2 separate regions of the Homo sapiens genome follow, and region 2 is linked to region 1. The links are contacts of gene promoters, found by promoter capture Hi-C in blood cells and fetal thymus (Javierre and others, 2016). All regions are on one chromosome and are shown on one strand. Each heading gives the region's core, a stretch centred on a gene start or on the middle of the fragment in contact. The rest is flanking DNA. Distances are from core to core; before and after follow the strand shown.

The links. Contacts are between HindIII fragments. The CHiCAGO score rates a contact against its expected background, and 5 or more counts as called.
Region 2: a fragment that was not itself captured here is called in contact with the fragment with the promoter of MRPS9 in region 1 in 1 of 17 cell types (total B cells); the score reaches 5.3 in total B cells.

What each region holds. Positions count from the first base shown.
Region 1 is chr2:105,033,263-105,040,265 of GRCh38, forward strand. It overlaps MRPS9 (mitochondrial ribosomal protein S9), which reads left to right and starts at 4,807. Exons shown (of 11, transcript NM_182640.3): 1 at 4,807-4,965. The coding sequence starts at 4,831. MRPS9-AS2 (MRPS9 antisense RNA 2) reads right to left here and starts at 5,234. Exons shown (of 3, transcript NR_110603.1): 1 at 5,192-5,234. RefSeq lists enhancers at 4,214-4,423, 4,444-4,493, 4,544-4,593, 4,764-5,093, 4,847-5,789. The HindIII fragment of the contact is 6,591 bases long and covers 306-6,896 here.
Region 2 is chr2:104,967,997-104,974,841 of GRCh38, forward strand. The region is part of intron 1 of MRPS9-AS2 (MRPS9 antisense RNA 2); the gene reads right to left. Among named protein-coding and RNA genes, the nearest start is that of DALIR, 64 kb to the left of the region's middle. RefSeq lists enhancers at 1,399-2,598, 1,433-2,082. The HindIII fragment of the contact is 3,918 bases long and covers 3,118-6,845 here.

The DNA of each region.
Region 1 (7,003 bases), core at 3,557-6,056:
ATCGATGAATTGTTGGGTGTGCTCATCTTAAGTTGAATAGGTTACTAGTTATGTGGTTGATTTCATGAGAGTTGTACCAATTTACACTAGTATCAGCAGCATCTAATAGCTCCTGCTACCCCACATCTCAACAACACTTGGTGTTAGTACAACATTTTGATTTTCCTGATGTTCATTTAACAAGCTGACTTTAGAACAAAACCCTCACATTAGACATGACCCCACTATATTGGATTTTTAGGACCTAGGATTCCCGATGCCTACAATAGGTGCTCCATAAGTGAGAACAAAACGAAAAGAATCTAAGCTTTAGCCATTTGGTAAAGTACATTTTTTTTCTTTTCTTTCTTTTTTTTTTGAGACAGAGTCTCGCTCTGTCGTCCAGGCTGGAGTGCAGTGGTGCGATCTCGGCTCTCTGCAACCTCCGCCTCCCGGGCTCAAGTGATTCTCCTGCCTCAGTCTCCTGAGAAGCTGGGATTACAAGTATGTGCCACCGCTCCCAGCTAATTTTTGTATTTGTAGTAGAGACGGGGTTTCACCATGTTGCCCAGGCTGGTCTTGATCTCCTGACCTCAGGTGATCCACCTGCCTCAGCCTCCCAAAGTGCTGGGATTACAGGCATGAGCCACCACGCCTGGCCCCCTTTTTTCATATTTTAAAGATTAATCAGCACACTTCAATCTTTCCTATGTCTCCAAATTATGAACCTAATGTGAACACATAGCAGTGCATTTGTTCCCAAATTCAAAGGTTACACAGGAAATTTAATGCAGGAGTACAAGTATTGCTCCCAGAGGTGGAAAATATACTACGTTTGCTTTACTGTACGATCATGCATTCTGAGAAATGTGTCATTAGGTGATTTTGTCACTGTGCAAACATCATTGAGTGTAGCCACACAAATCTCAGTGGTGTAGCCTTCTATACATCTTGGCTGTATGGTACAGCCTATTGTTCCCAGGCTACAAATCTGCACAGCATGTTACCGGAATATTGTAGGCAGCTGTAACTCAATGGTAAGTAAATGTGTATCTAAACATAGAAAAGGTACAGTAAAAATACTGTATAAAAGGTAAAAATGGTACATTTGCATAGGACACTTACCATGGACAGAGCTTGCAGGGCTGTAAGTTGGTCTGGGTGAGTCAGTGAGTGAGTGGTAAGTGAATGTGAGGGCCTAGAACATTACTGTTTACTACTGTAGACTTTACAAACACAATACACTTAGGCTACAATAAATTTATTAAAAAATTACCTTTCTTCAATAAGAAATTCACCTTAGCTTATTTTAACTTTATAAACTTTTTGATATTTTTAAAGTTTTTAACTCTTTTGTAATAATACTTAGCTTAAAACATAAGCACACTGTACAGGTGTACAAAAGCATTTTCTTTCTTTATATTCGTTTTCTTATTCCTTATTCTATAAGACTTTTTCATTCTTTAATTTTTTTTTAGCTTGTTAAACATGTCTGTTAAAAACAAAGACACAAACACACACATTATCCTATACAGGGTCAGGATCACCAACATCACTATCTTTTACCTCCACAGTGTGTCCCACTGGAAGGTCTTCAGGAGCAATAAGACGTATGGAGCTCCTATGACAATAATGCCTTCTGGAATATCTCCTGAAGGATCTACCTGAGTTTGTTTTACAGTTAACTTTTTCTTTTTATAAGTAGAAGCAGTAGACTCCAAATTAACAATAAAAACTATGAGGTATAGCCTGGTAAATAAATAAACCAGTAACATAGTTCATTATCATGTATTATGTATTATACATAATTGTATGTCCTTTAATAGGACTGGCAGTGCATAGATTTGTTTACACTATCATCGCGACAAATGGGTAAGCAATGCGTTGTACTATTGTAGCAGGATGAGCCGCAGACAACAACCCCTCAGACACCGAGTTGTAGAAGGAAAGGGCTTTATTCAGCTGGGAGCATTGGCAGACTCACGTCTCCAAAAACCAAGCTCCCCAAGCGAGCAATTTCTGTCCCTTTTAAGGGCTTACAACTCTAAGGGGATCCATATCAGAGGGTCATGATCGATTGAGCAAGCAGGGGGTACCTGAGTGGGGGCTGCATGCACTGGTAATCAGAATGGAACATAACAGGACAGGGATTTTCACAATGCTTTTCCATACAATGTTTGAAATCTACAGATAACACAAGCAGTTAGGTCAGGGGTTGATTTTTAACTACCAGGCCCAGGGCCCAGTGCTGGGCTATCTCCCTGTGGATTCCATTTCTGCCTTTTAGTTTGTACTTCTTTCTTTGGAGGGAGAAATGGGGCATAAGACAATATGAGGGGTGGTATCCTCCCTTACTATGATGTCTTGATGGCTATAAGGTCATTAGGAGATAGGAACTTTTTAGCTCTATTATAATTTTATGGGACCACTGTCTTATGTGAAGGTCACTGTTGACCGAAACTGCATAATGCAGTGCATGACTGCATGCTAGTAAAGGACTGTGACATGAATTTCAAAAAAGGGAAAAATCTCCACCACTCCTAACCTTAATTTTAGTACTTAGTTCTTATATGGTCCAATATCAATAATTTTTTAATAGTATAAATCCTGCTTCCACATACTCACTGTTTTCTACTTGGTTAAATTTCCACAATTAAGATTTTAAAAAATTTTTAAATAATCTCACAATGTGTAGGAACTGCTGTTTAAAGACATCTATTTTAATGAGCTATAAAGTCTTGGTTCTCTGCTGCAAGCGGTGGCTCACGTCTGTAATCCTAGCACTTTGGGAGACCAAGGCGGGCAGATCACCTGAGGTCAGGAGTTCAAGACCAGCCTGGCCAACACGGCGAAACCCTGTCTCTACTAAAAACACAAAAATTAGCTGGGCATGGTGGTGGGCACCTATAATCCCAGCTACTCGGGAGGCTGAGGCAGGAGAATCGCTTGAACCCGGGAGGCAGAAGGTGCAGTGAGCCGAGATCACATCACTGCACTGCAGCCTGGACGACAAGAGCGAACTTCCATCTCAAAATAAATAAAATAAATAAATAAATAAAGTCTTGATTCCCAAATGCTAGTTTATCCATCCGTTGACAAAAAGAGTCGAACTCTGTAAAATATTTTGAAGAGATTTATTCTGAGACAAATATGAGTGATCATGGCCCATGACACAGTCCTCAGCAGGTCCTGAGAATTTGTGCCCAAGGTGGTCAGGGCGCAACTTGATTTTATACATTTTAGGGAGGCATGAGACATCAATCAAACACATTTAAGAAATACATTGGTTTGGTCCAGAAAGACCTGGGACTGATAGAAAGGGAATGTTCAGTTTAAGATAAAGATTGTGGAGACCAAAGTTCTCTGTAAGTCTTACAGTGGCTGCCCTTAGAGACAATGGATGACAAATGTTTCCTATTCAGATCTTAGTTAATCTCTTTAGGATTGGGAGGGTCTGGAAGAAAAAGATCTAGCTATGTTAATACAGATTCTTTACAGATGCATATCCCACCCCTCCAAGGACAGCTTTGCAGGGCCATTTCAAGATATGGCAAAGAAACATGTTTTGGGGTAAAATATTTTGATTTTCTTCCTTGTCTTGTAATGTTATGCCAGAGTCAGGTTGGAAAGTAAGTCACCATATATAGGGTTAAGTAAAACCCATCTAATAAGAATTTATGATTTGTAGGGCATGACTCCCCAAATCCTGTAGATAGGAATCTTGGGCAAGATAAAAAAATCAGAGTTTAGTCCTCCGACCTCTGCCAATTTCTCAAGATATCTTTTGCTAGTCTAAAAGCTAATAACAAAAAGAACAACAGGATGAGCATTTTATACAAGTAAATGTATTCCATTTAAAAGATTTTTCTTTATTGTGAAATTCTGCCATTCTACCTTTTTAATGCTAAAAAGTTCTGTTTCGTGAAATGATGGTGATAGTAGACGGCATTTATTTGCTTGACAACTTTGTATGATCTCAGATTTTCTGTGTGTTTTACTTTTACTGACCCTTCAAATCTAAGTGTGTGTAAACCCTTTTAAAGTGCGTTACTACATCATTTAGTATGTGTTTCGTAGAAAGCAACCTGGGAGTTAACTGCCAGGAGCACGCAAGTTTCAGAAAGCAAGACATACTCATCTCTATTCAACAATTAATCAGTTCTGATTGGGTTTCAAGTAAGGCTTAGTACCAACGCTTAGGGAGGGGCGTGCAAAAACGAGAAAGGTAGTGTTTGACCTTACCGGTTTAAGGTTTATCCTGTGCATTATACAGTTAAGAAACAACGCAGGAGAGTGCCAGGGAACCGAGAGGGGCTTGACAGTTGCTGCAGGAGAGTCTTGACTTGGAACCAGACGAACGTGGAAAGTTAGAGGAGGGGAAAACCCCTACTAGGATAAGGCAGACAGGAATCAAGGCTTGGAGCGCATCTGGGGCCCCGGCCGCCCTGCCCAGGTGGAGGAAGAGCCGGCTCGAGGTGCAGCAAGGGGGCTGGGAAGGAAGGGCTGGCTAAAGCGCCACGTGGATGTGAGTGCCAAAGAGACTAGGAGAGCGTGGAAGTGAGTCCCGAAGAGACTGAGTTCAGGACGTGAAGAGAAAGAGGCCGAGAAAAACGACCCACCAGCGATCCTTCTTGAGGTCGACACCGAGCAGGGGTGGAGTCGGATACGCCCCGCGGACACCATGCACCCAATCAGCGACGAGCTGTCGCGGATCGCGGGACACGCCCCCTGATCCAAAGGCCCGAGAAGCTCTTGCACAGGACAGCCTCTGGAACCCCGCGCCATTAGCGCCTGCGCCGTCTCTAGGCCCCGCCCCCTCACCCCTCCGGTCCTGGAGCTCCCACAGCTAACATGGCGGCGCCCTGTGTGTCCTACGGCGGAGCAGTTTCGTACCGGCTTCTTCTCTGGGGTAGGGGTAGCCTCGCCCGGAAGCAAGGCCTCTGGAAAACCGCGGCCCCTGAGTTGCAAACAAATGTCAGATCCCAGGTAAGGCCTGGGAAGACTGGAAGCGGCTTACCTCTGCCGCGCGAGGATGTGGAGCCAGCGCGGACACCTTCCCCCAGCGTCTCGCGTGCCTTCAGGCAGGGACTCTAGGATCTTAGGTATTTAGTGGAGGTCTGAGGTTGGGGGGGAGGAGGTGGGTATTGGCGTGCAGTAGCCGCTCTAGAGGTTGTTACTTGTTTTTTTGCGGGGTGCAGCGAGGGGAACTTACCTGAAGGTAGAAGTGGAGCGACCTCCTCCTTCATTTGGCTGCTGAGCTAAGTAAGGGTCGGTGCCTAGGTCTGTGTTGGGTCCAGTCCTACCCTGCCCTGCTGTCTAGGGAGGAGGAGGGCCGCGCCAGAGAAGAATGATGGGAATTGGATTCCTGCAGGTGCCTGGAAGACAATGGAGAAAGTCACGTTGTGTAGAGGACAGTGACTTTTTGAAAGTGCCTTCAATATGCGCAATTTCTGGCTTCTTAATTTTCCCGAATCCCCCTCTATGGAAAGATGCAGGCCAGAACTTGTACGTTTCGTTTAATCCAGGGAGAAGTGGGGAGTCAACAGCTGGATGGCTGATGATGCCAGTTTACTGACATGCGATCTCAGAGCAGGAAAAAGATTTGAGAGGGAAGAAACGAGTTTAGTATGGGATTATGTTTTTAGGCATCTGGGATTTCCAGTAGGTCTACGGATAGTCAAGTGTATAGCTCAGGAGGAGAACTGATTTCGAAATGCCCTGTTACCTTGTAAATGGTAACTGAGGCCTTGTAAACAAATTAAATTACCTAGGGAGAGTGTACTGAGGAGTAGGCAGAGGGACAGGGCCCTGAAGGACAAATAAGAAATAAGAGGCCTCAAGAGATTGAGAATGAGGGACCAAAGAAGCAGGAGAGAAACCAGCCAGTGTGGTGTCATGGAAAACAGGTGAATGTTTCAAGGAGGGAGAGTGATAACAAGTACCAATTATTGCAGGAAAGTCAAATACCATACTTTAAAAACTATATTTAAAAAAAAAAACATCTTTTTGTATGTTCTTTCCTTTATATTTTAATCTAGATCAACCAGTCCATTCTATCTATTCATGTGGACATTTGTTTTTTTTTTTTTTCTTACTGGAAAATGTGCTAGAAATTTTTATTTTTTCATGCATCTCTTTGAGTATATCTTTGCTACATACGCATGATTATGAGAGGGACTATATCATACAGAGTATTTTTATTGTTGACATTTAATGTATGTATTGGGGGATGGCTAACTTTCTGTCCCTCCTGGTATCTATTCTTCTATGTTTTTTCCATGTTCTTATAATCATGCATAAACATACATGCACAGGTGTACTTTACAAAAAATGGTACCATATTTGATTGCATTTTACTTTCTGCTTTTCTCTTGTACATATGCAGTATATTGTAAAGTAGAAATCCTTCAGGGTCCCCTATTATGTTTTTAAAAGCATTTTTAACTGCTGCATACTATTCCATGATAAGAATATATCAAAGTTAATGTAACAATTGATGGACATTTGCTTTGTTTCTACTTTCTTTGCACTAATAAAGTTTCAGTAAACATCTGGTCTAGTTCTTAAGTACTGGTTTAGTAAAATGGATGAAGAATGATTTCTCCTGTTACTTTAATTTTCATCTCCTTGACCATTCTTGAAACAACCTCTTTCCCCCATATGGCAAATGTTTACTGAGCACTTTACCTGAGCCAGGCACTGTGAAGTAAACAATTTAAAGTCAAACAATTACAAGATAGTATCCACCCTTAGCACTCTTAAGGGATGGTCCTGAAATGGCTGAATCCCCAGATTCCTGAATACTACTACAGCATATATTTTACCACATTAAGTACAGCTCAGATATAACTGAAACACTTAGCTGACCCCCCTTTAGATTCTTATGATTGCATACATATACCTAAAGACATTGATAAAGCTTTTTTTTTTATCGTGGTGCAGAGCTTATCTGTCTTAAACATTAACATTTTTTCACTTCTGCCTCCAACATTAATAGATAGATTTCTCTTGGTAGCCCATGTTT
Region 2 (6,845 bases), core at 3,827-6,326, 65 kb before region 1:
CTATATATCACTTCTAATTTAAAGCTATCAGTTCTGATTTCTGTGCTGGGAAAAGGTACCAGTTCATAATCTTATGGTCTTTCCTGAGTTTGGTTTTCTCTTTTATGTGGGATAATCTAGAAATTTCTTTGTAGGGTAATAACATTTATGAGTGGAGGAAGCACTGAATTCACTCGCAACTCAGGAAAGTTTACATGACTTCCCAAAATTGTAAGTCCCCATACATGGATTGTAAGACACTGTCAAAAGCATTTTTAAAATGTACAGTGTCTTTCTTATTTGAGGAATATTTTTTGACACACAAAATAATGTGATGCATCCTAAAAACTACATTTAAATCCCAGCAATATCCTGTACGCATGCAATCTTACGTATTTGACGAAACAGCTCCTCATCTTAGATTTGAATAGAAAATTGCATATTTTGAAAAATGTAAGAGAATGAATCAGAAAGTCTTTAAGATAATTCTTAAACCTCTAAAATGCTACTGAGAGGTCTCACTGTTAAGAGCCAGGCTGGATATGGGGAGTGCTAGAAATTACTACCTAGCAGAAAATATTAAAATTCATCTCCTTGTCTGGGGAGGGGAATAGTAGAGACACAGCTCAAATCAAGAGAAAGAGATAAATCAGAAAAGGGCAGTAGATGTAAATGTAGAAAATGGAAAAGAAAGGTGGGAGCGGGAACCAGATCTCGGCTCCAGAGAATGTCAACCTGCAGGGTTGAGAAACAGGTGAAACATTAAAATAGACACTTGGAGTCTCTAGAAAAAAAATCAAACCAAAGACTATGCAAGGCACAGCACCCAAGATACATCAAGAGAGAAGAAAAGCCTTATGTGTGATGCAGGGAGACAGAGGCAAACAGGGCTAACAGGGTTACATAGACAGGGTCGGGGAAACCCAGCTAGGATGAGGAAGTGGCTCTATCATTGGTGTGGATTTTACTTTAAACCAATATGGTGATCCTGGGACACTTAAGGAAATGGCCTTACTTTCCAAAACCCTGGCACTGGGGTGACTTAGAGAAGGTAACGAGTGTAGGAATGGGTGAATCCTAGGATGAATCAAGACTCCCAAAGCATAAAGTCTGCAGACAGAAAGGTGCTGTCTTTCTATTTAAGATGGAATCAAGCCAGTTAGCACGCAGAAATGGGAGTGCTGGAGTCAGGTTCCAGGAGAGCAAGATATCAAACCAATGTTTAATGGCAGAAGGAATGCAGGTAGGGTCAAGAACTCAAATAACCAACTAGAAGTCAGATCCTTGTAAGAGTAATCTTAAGTAAAGGTCCAGGGAAAAATCTCAAGTCAAGGTCATTAAGCACTAACAAGAGAGCAAGGGCCAGTGTTACTTCTCTGTCAGAACAGGTAACGGCTATGGATGGATGTCTACCTGCCAGAGGACCTCCTTTGGAGGCATACCCCACCACGGGTGCCTTCCCGTCAGCCCTAAAGTCCTGGGTGTTGAGAAGAGCAGATAGCATTTTTGACCCCTAAATCATTATGCAAAGAACATACATGGGATTGGCCTTTGAAAACTCTGGCAAATGTGTCAAAGTATCCAGCTAGGACTGGGCAGGGGAATCCTTCATTTTGGCCTCAAGGTCCTCTCCTCTCCTGCCTCGGACCTGCTGGGTGATCAGGGAGGTTGACTGGTATAAATGGCATCCATTGTTCTCTGGCTTCTGGTTGGTTCAGCTATTAAAGGAAGCCAGCAGGAGGGTAAAGAGTGAAGGAAGGGTATTTAATCCGTCAGCAACTTCCCTGCTGAGTCACTGCCTCTACAGAAGGCTACAACCCACATCAGACAACTCATTCAGCCAACTCACACTTGTACTTCCTGTGTGCTCCCCAGCCCACACCTCCTCAACACACACCTGGTCATCACTCCCTCCCCTTGCTCTCATTCAAGTCCAGGTGTGGTCAAGCTCCTGCTGTTAAGAGCCACAGGTACCGCACCATACCTGATGGTTTTTCCTAAACTCTGTCCTCACCTTTGTAAAGAATTCCTTTATTAAGCTCTGTCCAGTTACCCAGCTCTGAATGGGCCATGAGACAGGATTCCGACCGATACACCGACTAAACTCACCATTGGCAGTAAAGTTGTTTTTGTATTTCTTTACTTGCAGGCAGATTTTTAAGAGGAATTGGTGTAGCGGTTTCCTAGCTTGTGATGAAAAAGAAAGGGCAAGATGACCTCCTTGTGGGAGTCAGTGAGCAGCAGGGGTTGAAGGTGGAGCAGAAAACCAGGGCCCTCTGCCTCCACACCCTGCCATGGTGATAACAAGAAAAAGCAGCCTAGGCCAGGTGTGGTGGCTCATGCCTGTAATCCCAGCACTTTGGGAGGCCAAGGCGGGCAGATCACCTGAGGTCGGGAGTTAGAGACCAGCCTGGCCAACATGGTGAAACCCCATCTCTACCAAAGATACAAAAATTAGCTGGGCATGGTGGCGGGTGCCTGCAATCCCAGCTATTCAGGAGGCTGAGGCAGGAGAATCGTTTGAACCTGGGAGGCGGAGGTTGCAGTGAGCCGAGATCGCACCACTACAATCCAGCCTGGACGACAAAACAAGGCTCTGTCTCAAAAAGTAAAAGAAAAAGCAGCCTAGAGACATGGCACAGGCTCGGGAGACTGCCATCTCTCTGCCAGGCAGGCCCACTCCTGCCCCCAACGCCTGTGTCAGTGGCACTGCTGTAGCCGGAACACTGGAGCCCCAGCACTGCTGGAAGTGCAGAAAGCAGCAGCAACTTGAGAATGAACAGAGACGTGTTTTGTTGCTGCTTTTACACAACTTTTACACAACCTGTCAGAGCTACTCTTTGGCAAAACCCTTCTGTTACTGGGAGAGATGGATTTTTTGCTGCCAGCAACCACATGCATTCAGGAAATTAACTCAGTGAAAAAGAACCAGAGGCCAGTAGTGGACTCTGTCTTCTCACAACCGTCTTCACCTTTACATTCCAGAATCTGTATTTCTGCTGAAGCTCGGCACACCCTGACTCCCTGATATTTGGCAAGACTCCCTTGTTTCTCTTCAGTGACTTCCACAAGAAACCTCATTGCTGTACAAGGAGATCAATGACTTGGTGGTGAACATTCATCAGTGAATATTCCTCAAGCTTAGTTATAAGCAACATCTTATGTATGGATCATTCTATAGGCAGCTTGGTTCTCAAAGATCTGCTCTGAGGATTCCTGTCCACCCTTCCTAACCTAAACTTCCCAACCTAAATTATCCAATCTTTTCAGATAGCCCACATCTACTAGCTGACTGTCAGGTTACTTTATACTATATAGACCATTCTTCCATCTATCCATTCATTGATTCATTCATTCAACGAATATGTATAGTTTGCTAAGTACTGGGTCTGTATCCAGTTATAAGAAGAAATAAAGCCACCGATTCCTGACTGGAAGAGCTCCAATCATTTTTGGGAAAAGGACAAGTCAGTAACTGCCTGGAACCCAGGGAGCATTTGAACAAAGGGCTGACAGAGGAGGAAGCAACTGATTCTGCTCGGTTGGGGATGGGGCTGGTGGGGTCAGCAAAGGCTCACATGGAGCCTGGTTGAGACAGTGTGTCAACATTGGAGTGATGCCATTTGAATTGGGTTATGAAAGATGATTGGGATCTTACCAGTCAAAGAAAGGGAAGAAGAACACTAAAGACAACAGGAATAGCATGAGTGAAGGTGTAAAAATATGCTTCACCAACCCACCCCTAGTCCTTTGCTTCCCTAACAGCCTCCAAACATTGGGGCCCTTGGGCCTTGGTCCTGGGTTCCTGTCTGCCTTGCATCACATGTTCTCATTAGTGAACACATCTGATCTTGTGCATTAAGTCTCTGTGCAGGCACCTCCAGAATGCTCCTCTGTGTTCCAGGCTCATATATGCAACTGTTGAGCTGGCATTTCCACTTGGATGTCTATAGGCATCTGAAGATGATCCTCTCAATAAGGGGCCACACAGTTCTGAAGAAATTTGAGTCTTCTTTTGTTCTTCCCTCAATTTACCCGTGGGTCCTGTTGGCAATACTGCCAAAATATGCCTCAAATCCATTCATTTTCCCCACTTTCATTGGCACTCCTCATGTCTAAGCCATCTTCCTATCTTGTCTGGACTACTGGATGAGTATGAAGACTGATGTCGCCAGTTCTGTTTTGTTCTCCATACAGTATGCAGGCTGAAGGTTTTAAAGCATAACTATTTTACTCTCCATCTTAAAACCCTTTAATGACTTCCTATTGTCCTTAAAATACCCCTCAAGCTGGCTTGAGAGGGCTGCAGGATCTCACTCCATCCACCTCTGTCAGGTACCTAGAACCAGGTGCTGCATCTCCTCCTCCAGAGGTCTATCTGGCTGCCTCCTCCTCACCCCTCATGTTTTAACTGTAATGTTTCATCCTCAGAAAGGTTTGACTACGTTGCCTAAAATACTGCCCTGTCCACTGACTGTCCATGATACCTCCTTGTTGATTCCTTTCTAGAACTTATAAGTATCACATGGATTTTTAGCTTAAAACATATGTGTCCCCCTCACTGAAATGTAAGCTCCCCAAGGGTGGGAACCCTAACTGCCTAGTGCTCCATCATATTCCTAGGGACTGGATCAGTGCCTGGCACAAGGCAGGTTGTACATAACTAGGTGTTGGTGAGAAAATGAATAAAATGATGGTTTTCCCTCTCTTGGCTAGCCCTAGATCCTCACCACTGAATCCTTACCCCCTTCCAGGAGCACCGTCCTGTAACTTCAATCCTGCACCAGGTTCCACGCAAACTGACTGAGGCACAAACTGGTTCCTTTCAAGATTCAGATGTGGGACAAACATCACAACATTTGGAGCTCAAAACTCCTCCATTTGCTGCAAATTTAGAAAAGATCTAATGACCATGGGACTGTCTCCTAGATTTTTTTGAATCTAAATTGAAACTTGTCTCCATTTTTCTGCTCTCCAAATCCCCTCTTTCCCATGGACAAGAGTTCATGATGGCTCAGGGCAGTACTGACCTACTGCCCTGGCTTATATTTCTGACAGGTTGGATCAAAGTGCTTTCAATAAGAGAAAAAGAAGGATGAACAAACTGGTGAGTTACCTGCCAACTGAGGAAGGCCACAGCCTGACTCCAGCTCTCACCTGACCCAGCTCAGTAGAAAAGGAAGGCAAAAATAAAGATAAAACATGAGTGAGCAGATAGGACAGGATAACAAATGTTAATATTATTTGCTCCCCTAGCAACACTATGAGTAGCCTTCTGCTGGTTCCATTTCTACTTCCAAATTTTTAAAAATTATTTTTAATTTTCAAAATGATTTGAATAGACTTGAGAAGAGGGAGATAGCTGTTTAGGTAATGTGTCATTCAATACTATGTTCAGTCCAACCATTAGTTGATATTCTACTTTCTCAATTCATGTTCATCACAATCTGTTGACTGTATGTGTGCACAGTATAGTTTATGGTGGTTCATCCTTTTTTTTTTTTTTGAGACAGAGTCTTGCTCTTTAGCCCAGGCTGGAGTGAAGTGGCATGATCTCAGCTCACTGCAACCTCCAACCCCCAGGTTCAAGCAATTCTCCTGCCTCAGCCTCCCAAGTAGCTGGGATTACAGGTGCCTGCCACCATGCCCGGCTAATTTTTTGTATTTTTTTAAGTAGAGATGGGGTTTCGCCATGTCAGCCAGGCTGGTCTTGAACTCCTTACCTCAGGTGATCCACCTGCCTCGGCCTCCCAGAGTGCTAGGATTACAGGCAGGGGGAGCCACCACACCCGGCCTAGTGGTTCATCCTTCACTGGGTATTATTATATGCTGTGTAATAAGCATACCAGGCACAAGGGAAATAAGGATGAATTTGACACCCTATCTGTTTCTAAGGAAGTTCAAAACGCAGGCAAACATGTAAATGATTAATTAAAACAGTATGGTGCCTGCAATGGTAGGAATGTGTGCAAGGAAGAAAAAGGGTGAGTGTATTTTGCACATGAGAGAATTATAAGTAATTTTTGGCCAGAGATCGGACTGAAACACTTTGTAACGTGGTCTCTGAATTCTTTGAGACTTCTCCCATCAAGAGAGCATGTCTGAGTCCCCTGTCCTTGAGCCTGGATCTTGTGACTGATTGACTGATAGAATAAGACAGAAGTGATGCCATGTTGGTTTCTAAGCCTGGGAAGGCCCAAGAAACTGCCAACTTCCAATTCCTGCTTCTTAGGTCACTTGCTCTTGGAAGCCACCACATGCTTGGCGGAAGCCCAAAGTAGCCCACCTGGGGTGAACACACGGTGAAGCTGAGACATCGTGAAGACAGGGATGTGGCCGGTCTCCACCTGCTCCAGCTCCTCACTGTTCCAGCTTCAACCACTGTCTGACTGGGTCCCACCAGGAAGTTCTTCTGCTGGTCTCACTGGGGTGTCTCCTACAAATGCACTTAGTGGATGGCTGGGCTGGAGTCATGTGAAGGCTGGACTGCAACAGAGGGACGGCTGGCTTCTCTCCATCTCCATGCAGCCTCTGTGCCTTCCACGTGGCTACCCCTGCCTTCCTCACAGCATGGAGGTATCAGGGTAATTGGGCTTTTCTCACGATAGCTGGCTTCTCCAAAGTGGAAGTTGCAAAGAACAGGACAGAAGCTGCGAAGTCCCATGCCCTAGACTTGAAAGCCTCTCTGCCAGCCCAGATTCAATGCTGAGGGCACTATTCAAGGGAGTGGCTACCAGAAGACATGGCTCAATGAAAGGGGCATCTTGGAAGACTAAGTGGCAGCTAAGCTATTATCCTGTAGATAATGAGGAGTCATTGAGGCTTTTAAGTAGGAGATGGATTTGATTTCAGTTTTGTTTCAATCA